4 separate regions of the Homo sapiens genome follow, and regions 1, 2 and 4 are each linked to region 3. Evidence: promoter capture Hi-C in 16 types of primary human blood cells and fetal thymus (Javierre and others, 2016). All regions are on one chromosome and are shown on one strand. The core of a region is centred on a gene start or on the middle of the fragment in contact, and the rest is flanking DNA. Distances in the headings are between cores, read along the strand shown.

Evidence for each region. Contacts are between HindIII fragments. The CHiCAGO score rates a contact against its expected background, and 5 or more counts as called.
Region 1: a contact is called between a fragment that was not itself captured here and the fragment with the promoter of APCS in region 3, in 1 of 17 cell types (M2 macrophages). The highest score is 6.0, in M2 macrophages.
Region 2: a contact is called between a fragment that was not itself captured here and the fragment with the promoter of APCS in region 3, in 2 of 17 cell types (M2 macrophages and neutrophils). The highest score is 5.5, in M2 macrophages.
Region 4: a fragment that was not itself captured here is called in contact with the fragment with the promoter of APCS in region 3 in 4 of 17 cell types (naive B cells, total B cells, naive CD4 T cells and 1 more); the score reaches 6.9 in naive B cells.

Annotation. Positions count from the first base shown.
Region 1 is chr1:159,768,650-159,771,349 of GRCh38, forward strand. No RefSeq gene overlaps it. Among named protein-coding and RNA genes, the nearest start is that of DUSP23, 11 kb to the right of the region's middle. RefSeq lists an enhancer at 1-887. The HindIII fragment of the contact is 5,272 bases long and covers 1-2,700 here.
Region 2 is chr1:159,751,713-159,754,412 of GRCh38, forward strand. No RefSeq gene overlaps it. Among named protein-coding and RNA genes, the nearest start is that of DUSP23, 28 kb to the right of the region's middle. The HindIII fragment of the contact is 7,347 bases long and covers 1-2,700 here.
Region 3 is chr1:159,586,570-159,589,269 of GRCh38, forward strand. It overlaps APCS (amyloid P component, serum), which reads left to right and starts at 1,257. Exons shown (of 2, transcript NM_001639.4): 1 at 1,257-1,416; 2 at 1,532-2,296. The coding sequence starts at 1,353. The coding sequence ends at 2,139. The HindIII fragment of the contact is 2,624 bases long and covers 678-2,700 here.
Region 4 is chr1:159,377,266-159,379,965 of GRCh38, forward strand. No RefSeq gene overlaps it. Among named protein-coding and RNA genes, the nearest start is that of OR10J1, 61 kb to the right of the region's middle. The HindIII fragment of the contact is 185 bases long and covers 1,276-1,460 here.

The sequences.
Region 1 (2,700 bases), core at 58-2,557, 180 kb after region 3:
GGGTCCCCTTATTTCTTTCTCTATACTTTGTCTCTGTGTCTTTTTCTTTTCCAAGTCTCTCATTCCACCTTACGAGAAACACCCACAGGTGTGGAGGGGCAACCCACCCCTTCACATAAGTATATTGCAGGACCTTCTACTCTAGGTATAGAAAACGGTTCTTGAATACAGCCTGGTTTACCTACTTCTACTCTCTGGAAGTGGTTGCCTCTGCTTTCTCCAAGATGACCCATGTTTTCAATAAAAATAGCCTGTGTGTGCAGCTGAGTGATTTTCTCATCTTACCTCCTGTTTCTATTTATTTTGAACTTCCTGTACATTAGTTAGTCTAAACTAATCCAATACCTTTCTATGTGGGCTTTCTATATGCCAGGTGATAGTCCACTTGACTAGACAAAAGCTATACCCACAACTATTTTTGAGATAGGCCTCTACTTTGGTTCAGTATGTCAATGTGCCGTGGAAAAAATGCCCTTAAAATTCTTAAAAGCCACTTTGCCTAGCTGAGAGAATCTAATAGTCACTATTTTAAATCATTCTGTGGTCTTAAGAAAGTCTTGTAGCCACACCCTTGATTTAATTTGTACCCTGAGAACATTTCTAACTTTGAGAATCTTTTGGCAGTAGGAGAGACTGGAAATGTGAGACAGTTTTATTTCTCACCTAGCGTATCCTGGGCACTCCATATTTGCTTTAAATTCTGCTTGCAAATGGAGCAATTCATTTTTTTTTTTTTTTGGTTCATCTCTCTCTTCCTATACCCTATTATCTATCACCTTTAAAAAGCTAATTGGCCCCTTCAGCATTCTAAATGGAAACTTCCTTAAGCCAAATCTACAAGTTAATTAAGTACATTTTTTATCTTCCAAGTTTCTGAAGATGACAGTGTTGCCAGTTATTCTACTACTATATAATGTGATTTGCCCTTTATCAGCCTCCAGTAGCAGTTTCCTCTCAGGTCCTCAGGCTCCACTAATAATCTACTCGCTGCACCTACTGCCTCTTCCAGCCACTCAACCCCAAAGCCAATGCCACATAGTTTAGCTTTTTGTTACAGCAACATACCATTTCTGGGTATAAATTTTTATATCTGGCCGGGCACGTTGGCTCACGACTGTAATCCCAGAACTTTGGGAGGCCGAGGCAGGCGGATCACCTGAGATCAGGAGTTCGAGACCAGCCTGGCCAACATGACAAAACCCTGTCTCTAATAAAAATACAAAAATTAGCCAGTCATGGTGGCAGACGCCTGTAATCCCAGCTACTCAGGAGGCTGAGGCAGGATAATCGGATAATCACTTGAATCTGGAGAGTGGAGGTTGCAGTGAGCTGGGATCGCGCCACTATCTCAGCCTGGGCCACAGCAAGACTCCATCTCAAAAAAAAAAAAAAAAAAAAAAAATATATATATATATATATATATATATATATATATATATATATATATATATATATATAAAATCAGTTTTCCATTCCTATGAAGTAAATGACCATATATATATATATATATACACACACACATATATAGAGAGAGATAGATATAGATATAGATATAGATCAGTTTTCCATTCCTATGAAGTAAATGACCCCAAAATTTAGTGGCTTAACAGCAATTTCTATTTCTCATGATTCTGTGAGTTAGCTGGGTCACTCTTCTACTGGTCATACCTAGGATCATTCATGCAGCTGCATCCAGCTTGGGGACTGGGCTCAACTGGCCTCTCCTACCATACGGTATATAATTCAGGGCTTCTTTATAGCATAAAGGTCTTAGGGTTCCAAGATGACAAGACCCAACATGCAAGTGCTTATCATACCTCTGCTTCTATCACATTTGTTTTATTTTATTTCATTTTATTTTATTTTATTTTATTTTATTTTATTTTATTTTATTTTATTTTATTTTTTGAGATGGAGTTTCACTCTTGTTGCCCAGGCTGGAGAGCAGTGGTACAGTCTTGGCTCACTGCAACCTCTGCCTCCCGGTTTCAAGCAATTCTCCTGCCTCAGCCTCCCAAGTAGCTGGGATTACAGGCATGTGCCATCACGCCCGGCTAATTTTGTATTTTTAGTAGAGATGGGGTTTCACCATGTTGGTCAGGCTAGTCTCAAACTCCTGATCTCAAGTGATCCACCTGCCTTGGCCTCCCAAAGTGCTGAAATTACAGGCATGAGCCACCGCGTCTGGCCCACATTTGTTTATATCACGTTAGCCAAAGCAAGTACAAGGCTGAGTCCAGTACAAATGTAGGAGAGGCATGTATAAGGGTGTGGATACTAGGAGGTGTAATCCATTCAGGTCATTGCTATAACAATCTGCTCCAAAACCAAAATGTAAGTTTCATGCTTTTATCTGCATCTTTAGTCAAGTATATAGCCCAATATTTTGTTCACTTGGACTTAATTGGCATGTTTGTTTAATTGAATTAAAGAGGTAGAAAGTTTTAGAAACACAAGGACCAGAAAGGCTGAAACTATTATAGTTTTGGAAAGCCAAAAGACTATAGAGCAAAGCTAACCATTAAAAAACATTTTCTCACCATTTTTCCATATTCTTGTGAATCAAATATGTTTTCTGACCAAAGGGATTTAGGGTATCATAATTTTCAAATAAATGACTGACTCATCAACCTTGTCTCTGTTATGGTCATAGCTATTCCAGAAATAAATTCCATGTGAATTTGCAAATTTTCTCATCCT
Region 2 (2,700 bases), core at 170-2,669, 170 kb after region 3:
TAGGGCCTGCCTTCATGGGGCAGATGATACAGGTACAGATACAAGTATAGGTGGTTCCTCTTGTCAGTTCCAACCAGGCGCCACTTTGCTGCTGTCCTTCTATGGCCAAGTTTCCTCCGGTTAGCAGGCTTCATACATCACAACAGGCAGGTTTATACACCTTAACCCAAAGCCAGTACTGCTAACAAATTACCTTGACATGTTGATTGCTTGCCTTAACTCACCCTGGAGGCCTCCAGAGGCCTTCTTCACATCACCACAAACACTTCCAATTAGTGCATTGGTTTATCAGGAACTCTTTTCTTGGTGCTCTATTCTGCTCTCCATGACCTTGGTTGCCTGAGTGATACATCCTTTAATTTGTTCCTACATCTTGCTTGGATTTTCCCCTGCTCATCTCTGTCTCTGCTTATACAGGATGTGTTTTATTGCCACACAGACTTAGCTGGTAGCCTCTGTGGCATCATCCAACACTGATGTCCCTCAGTCAACTCTAGAACACCCATAGGTGGCCTCTGTAAGAGACGTTTCCAGGAACAGAATGCCAAACATACTGTTTATCAGAGTTCTTGAGTTGCACAATGGGAGGAAATTGTTGCTTAGGATTTCAAAGGACACCAGAGAATTTCAACACACACCTGGAATGGTGCCCTGTTGCTTGTCCAGTCAATGCCAAGTTAATGATGGGAAGGAATAGCTGGTGTGTCACGTGATTGCCAAGCACTGTCGCAAATCCTTCCTGAGGTCAACACTCCCAACCCCGCCAAACTCTACAGCTCACAAATCAGCTGCAAGTGGAGCATAAAAAATGCAACATTGTGGAATTAACTACTTATGGGCCACACCTGAAATTGCCTGATTTTGGTTAAAGAAGTGGTTACAACACGCCCTTAAAATCATCATGAGCTTCTAAGAGATGACAATGACTCATAGATTTATCTGTCATGATCAGTTAAAATTCTAGACATAAACTCAACCTGAATTCTTAAGATCAATGGTTCGAAAGAACTGACATTTGAGAATCCATCCCATTTTACTTTGTAGATGCATTGATACATTTGTGGAAAATGACAAGAAATTAATCTTGAGCTCCTTTGCCCAAGAGGTTACCCATAGTTGTATACTCTCAACATACCTGCAAGACAACATGCCAGAGCTATGCCAGGATCTGATATTATTGAGTCTGGTTTTCCCAAATGAAGATCTTGATTTGGATTAGTTATCTTGAATGTGGAAATTCTCCTTCCTTTAATAATATCCTATTGAAGTAAGTTAGGATTTCACACAGGTAAAGTTACTACAGCTTTAGTAACTTTACCTACCACAATTTTAGTAACTTTACCTGTGTGAAAAACTGACTTTTGTTCACTTTTGGAATAAAGAAGGAGCAGCAGAAATTATTACCCATGAATCCTATATAAAAGATCCTGTGTCACAGAAATGTGTCTGGTCTTCTTCGGAAAGGTAGACCGACCCCAATTTCAGGACACCGCAGGAATTCAATATAAATTTGAAACTCTATGTTACAATTTACAGAGGTGTAGCTAACTCAACAACTGGAAAGAATAACAATTACTGCCTCTTGTTTACAAAATTTTTTTCTGTTCAAGACTTCTTCGAACTCTTATTACATAAAGTCAACTCCATGATCAGAAAGGCCATGAGAATTGTGCCAAATGCTAGATGAAGATGTGACTTTCTCAACCCCTTCACCAGTCCTCTTGTTTACCTGGTTGCCCAATGAGATCGAGTCTCTCTATTGGATCAAGACTGGTGTTGACAAAGAGTCCCAGAGCCAAGGTGGGAAGCCAGGTAGAAAAATACAACAAGTCTAAGAATTACAGGCAGGACTGGGAACGGGAAAAGTCAAAAAGGCTCCGAGCCAAATGAGAAGTCAGAAATCACATGCATATCAGGAGTCCAGGTTAAGTGTGTAGGTTAAAAATCAAGCCAGCAGTTAGAAACCAGGAAACCCACAGGCACCAGGGAGCAATGCAAGTCCAAGGGTCAGAAAACAAATAAAAGGCCAAGACAGCCAATTAAAAAGCACCATCATGATGAACTTCACGAAAGTCCCTGCTGTTTCAGGGAAGAAGGCTCTTCCTTCATTTCTGTGGGAGATGTGACCATGCGAGGTTGTGCAGGTAGAAGCCGGGGATCCATGTTAAAAGAGTGGAGTCAAATGAGAGAGGCGCTGTGTCTGGAATCATGCTGAAAGACGCATCATGATACCTCTACACAGTGCAGTAATTAGCCACCTATGTCACATCAGGATTTCAGGGCTCACTGGCCAAGAACAGCCACATCCCTGTCAGTACCATTTTTCCACCTCCTGGCACCCTTTCCCTTCTGGTTCCCAAACCCAAAAAAATTCATACTGCCCAACGGTGATCCAAATCCTTCCTGGGAGGCACAGTGCTCAGACTTTCCCATTTCCTAAAGCCTTCCAAGTGAAACAAAGAAAAAAATAATGCTTTTTTTTTTCAATTTGGACAGCATATCACAGATGCTAAGAGGAAGCAAGTGTATCAAACTCTGAATTTAAATGATAAATATCCTTAGCTATTGTAAAGGTATTTGAATTTGAAGGAAAGAACTAATTAATACAAAAGTGCCTCTAGAACTCTGCGCCGGCGTGTTGGAGGAATAAGGGTTAAAAACAAAACATCTCTCTTTAAAAAAAAAAATTACTTAAGCATA
Region 3 (2,700 bases), core at 7-2,506:
GCAACAAGCCAGATAAGGCTTCACAACCTGGGATTCCATTTAGAGAAAAAAAGTAGAGAATGGAAACTCCCCAGGGATGAGAATAGGAAGGATACTTTGAACAATGATAGAGAAAGTGTATTCTTGGTGGCAGTGATTGTGTCATTGAAAAGGCTGATTAGGTCTGTGGTGAGCTAACAGAAGAGAGAGTGAACAAGAGGCTAAACAGTAGGATGAGAAACAAGACACCATATAATTCAGGGATGAGAGAGAAAGAAATAATGTGGCTAGAAAGAAGAACTTCAGTTTGATATCTCAGAGGCAGAGAAGGTTTGAGTGGTGGTTAATAAACTGTACAGAGAGAGAATGAAGGAGACATAGAAAGAATGAAGGTGGAGATCTCTGGGGCTGTGAGAGAGCCAGTGACCACTGAATCCCCAGCACCTAGTGTAGTAACTGAGAGCTAGTGAATAAATGTATTAGTGGGGTCATCACCAAAGATGGATTAGATATACACTCAATGACCAAGGACTCAAAGAAGAGGAGAGAAAAACTTGGGGAGATGCTGACATCTCTGCAGGTAGCATGAAGTAACCAGAAAACAAGTCGTAATGAGAAATGGAAAGATCTAGGATAAGGAAGCACCATGATATGCAAACGAAAAAAAAGCACTGAGTAGAAGTAGCAGAAAAATACTAAGCTTCATGGGGACAGAAAGTTTATTCTCCAAGTCCCTCTTTCCCCTTAGCTTTGCCTGGATGTATTACTTGATGTTGAATTAGTCAAAGTTGAAGGCACTTTTTAGGGTCTTCAGCAGAAAGCAGAATCCTAGAATATCCTACAAATACAAGACAACTTGAGAACTATAAAAGAAAGAAAAGGCCTTGTTCCCATAGCCCACAAGAGGGCTGAGCTCAGCGATACACTCTGTGTGGCTCAGGAGCTTCTGGCAGAGCACAGAGCCATCAGAGAGGGGGCCCAGAGAGCAGAGAGAGGCTCTGCTGACATGGCCAGCCCAGCGCCTCATCCCATCCATAACCCTGCTGCCCTGCAATGACTCTCTTCCCAGCAATAAAATCTGGGTCACAGGAGTTGGAGCTCTAGCCATCACTTGTCTCTAATAAATAACTCCCATTGATTTTCCAGCTCAGGGCTCACCACTCCTTCACCGTAAGCGCCAGGAGGCAGACCTGGAAAATCACTCACATATTATTGGTGCTCTTCCTCCCCCATCCTCACCCAAGGTGCATATAAACCCTGAATAACCTGAAGTCTAAGGGCATGAATATCAGACGCTAGGGGGACAGCCACTGTGTTGTCTGCTACCCTCATCCTGGTCACTGCTTCTGCTATAACAGCCCTAGGCCAGGAATATGAACAAGCCGCTGCTTTGGATCTCTGTCCTCACCAGCCTCCTGGAAGCCTTTGCTCACACAGGTAAGGAGGTGAAGGAATGGTCAAGAATCATAAAGTGAGAAAATAGGTTGAAGCTGAGATATCTTTTCCCTGCATTTATACTGAAGGTCATTATCTTTCTTTCTTTATCCCGCAGACCTCAGTGGGAAGGTGTTTGTATTTCCTAGAGAATCTGTTACTGATCATGTAAACTTGATCACACCGCTGGAGAAGCCTCTACAGAACTTTACCTTGTGTTTTCGAGCCTATAGTGATCTCTCTCGTGCCTACAGCCTCTTCTCCTACAATACCCAAGGCAGGGATAATGAGCTACTAGTTTATAAAGAAAGAGTTGGAGAGTATAGTCTATACATTGGAAGACACAAAGTTACATCCAAAGTTATCGAAAAGTTCCCGGCTCCAGTGCACATCTGTGTGAGCTGGGAGTCCTCATCAGGTATTGCTGAATTTTGGATCAATGGGACACCTTTGGTGAAAAAGGGTCTGCGACAGGGTTACTTTGTAGAAGCTCAGCCCAAGATTGTCCTGGGGCAGGAACAGGATTCCTATGGGGGCAAGTTTGATAGGAGCCAGTCCTTTGTGGGAGAGATTGGGGATTTGTACATGTGGGACTCTGTGCTGCCCCCAGAAAATATCCTGTCTGCCTATCAGGGTACCCCTCTCCCTGCCAATATCCTGGACTGGCAGGCTCTGAACTATGAAATCAGAGGATATGTCATCATCAAACCCTTGGTGTGGGTCTGAGGTCTTGACTCAACGAGAGCACTTGAAAATGAAATGACTGTCTAAGAGATCTGGTCAAAGCAACTGGATACTAGATCTTACATCTGCAGCTCTTTCTTCTTTGAATTTCCTATCTGTATGTCTGCCTAATTAAAAAAATATATATTGTATTATGCTACCTGCATTTGTTTAGTGCTTGTCATAGTCCCATATCTTTATCTTATGTCTACTACTTATCTATCTACTAATTGGTGTTTCATTGGTAATTGGTGTTTCATTATCCTGAAAACTCCAATTGCCAAGTACGGGGAGGAAAACCTGTAAGTAACTAGAAAGATATATCACAAAGCCAGAGCACTCAATGAGCACAACAGTGGCAATACTTAAAAGCTACTAACAATCATTTTAATGACGATTCAAAATATGTGTGGAATTGTAATCACAATTCTCCTATTTGTTTTTCCAGCTACAAATCGATCAAAAAGGGGTCTGAGGTTGCATCAGGTAGACAACTATAATGATATAAGTAAGCAATAGTTGAGAACCTGACAGCAAGTAATAAGACAGGAAGAATAAAACTAG
Region 4 (2,700 bases), core at 118-2,617, 210 kb before region 3:
GTATCTTTGGTTTATAACTTTGCAATTTGTTTTCCACATAATTTAAGAGACTAATGCATTTTAAATGATTATTAATTTATTGTTTTGGATACACAGTGTATAAAGATAAAATTTCATGACATCAACAGACAAAAGATTTGAAAATGGAACTGTTAAAGGAGCAGAGATTTGTATGTTATTGAAATTAAGCTGACATAGATTCAAATTAGAGTGTTATAACTTTAGGGCATTAAATGTAATCCCCATGGTAGCCACGTATCTCAGAGATATTGTGGGTTTGATTTCAGACCACTGCAGTAAAGCAAATATCACAATAAAGTGAGTCACACAAATTTTTGGCTTCTCAATGAATATAAAAGTTATGTTAAACTATACTGTAGTTTATTAAGTGTGTAATAGGATTATGTCTTAAAGACAATGTATAGACTTCAATTTTAAAATACATTACTGTTTTAAAAAATGCTAACAATCATCTGAAACTTCAGCGAATCTTTGTGCTAGTAGAACATTTTGCCTCAATGTTGATGGCTGTTACTGAGCAGAGTGGTGGTTGCTGAAGATTGGGTTTGCTGTACCAATTTATTAAAATGAGACAACAATAAAGATTACCACATCAATTGATTTTTTTTTAGAGACAAGGTCTTGCTCTGTCATCCAAGCTGGAGTACAGTGCTGTGATCATAGATCACTATAGCTTTAAAGTTCTGAGCTCAAGAGATCCTCCCACCTCAGCCTCTTAAAAAACTGGGACTACTGGTGTGAGACACCACACCTGGCCAATTTTATTTATTTATTTGTAGAAATGGGGTCTCATTACATCGCCCTGGCTGGTCTTGAACTTCTGGCTATAAGCTATCTTCCTGCCTCCACCTCCCAAAGTGCTGGGATTACAGGTGTGAATCACCTCGTCCAGGCTTAATTGACTCACAAAAGATTTCTCTGTAGCAGGCAATGCTGTTTGATATCACTTGACCTACAATAGAATGTCTTTCAAATTGGAAGTTAATTCTCTCAAACCCTGCCATTTGTTTAACAACTAAGTTTTAGGGAATATTTTAAATCATTTGTTGTTGTTTTAATAATGTTCACAACCTCTTCACTAGGAGGAGATTCTATCTCAAGAAACTACTTTATTTGCTTATCCATAAGAAGCAACTCCTCATTTGTTAAAGTTTGATTATGAGAAGGCAGCAATTCAGTTATATATTCGAACTCCACTTCTAATTCTAGTTTTCTTCCTATTTCCACCACATCTACACCATGAGAATTGAAATAAGCTTCCTCTAAACTCCTGTTAATGCTAATATTGTGACCTTTTCTCATAAATAATGAATGTTCATAATGACATATAGAATGGCAATTTCTTTTCAGAAGGTTTTCAATTTGCCTCACCCAGATCCATCAGAGGAATCATTATCTATGGCAGCTATTACCTTATGAAATGTATTTTTGAATAATAAAGCTTGAAAGTCAAAATCACTTCTTGATAGATGGGCTGAAGAATGAATATTGTGTTAACAGGCATGAAAACATTATTCTCCTACCATGACTACACCAGAACTCTTGGGTGACTAGGTGCATTGTCAATATTTTGAAAGATATCTTTTTTTTTTTCCTGAGCAGTAGATCTTAAGACAGACTTACCATATTCAGCAAACCATGGTTTAAACAGATGTGTTGTAATTCAGGCTTTGTTCTTCCATTTATAGAGCATAGGCAGAGTAGATTTAGCATAATTCTTAAGGGTGTTAGAATTTTCAAAGTGGTAAATAACCATTGGCTTCAACTTAAAGTCAACAGCTGCATTCATCCCCTAGCAAGAGAGTCAGTTGTCCCTTGAAGCTTTGAAGCCAAGCATTGGCTTCTCCTCTGTAGCTATGGAAGTCCTAGACAGCACTGTCTTCCAATGGAAGGCTATTTTTAAAATATGTTGTTTAATGTAGCCATCTTCATCAATTATCTTAGCTATATTTTCTGGATCATTTGCTCTAATTTTTGCATCAGCACTCCTGAATTACCGTGAACTTTTATGTTATGGAGACAATTTATTTCCTTAAATTTTATAAACGAAATTCTGCTAGCTTAATATCTTCTTCTGCAGTCTCTTCACCTCTCTTAGCCTTCATAGAATTAAACAGACTTAGGGTCTTGCTCTTAATTAGGCTGTAGCTTAAAGGAATGTTGTGACTGGTTTGCTCTCCTATACTGACTTCTAAAAGTTTCTTCATATCGGTAATAAGGCATTTTCACTTTCTTATTTGTGTGTTAACTGATGTAGCAAATTTAATTTCCCTCAAGAATTTTTTTCTTTGCATGCACATCTTGGCTAACCATTTGGCACAAGAGGCCTAGATTTTGGCCTATCTCAGCTTTTGACCAGGCTTCCTCACTAAGCTTAATTATTTCTAGATTTTGATTTAAAGTGAAACACACTCAACTCTTTCACTTAAACACGTAAAGTTGACTGTAGGGTTACTAATTCATCAATTTTCAATATTGTTATGTCTTAGTGAATAGGGAAGCCTGAGGAGAAGCAGAAAGATGGGAAAATGGCCAGTCAGTGGAGCAGTCAGAACACACACAACATTTATCAATTAAGTTTGCTGTCTTATATAGGTTCAAACAAAACAATTATAATAGTAACATCAAAGATCACTTATCAAAGATCACCATAGCAGATATAATAATAATGAAAAAGTT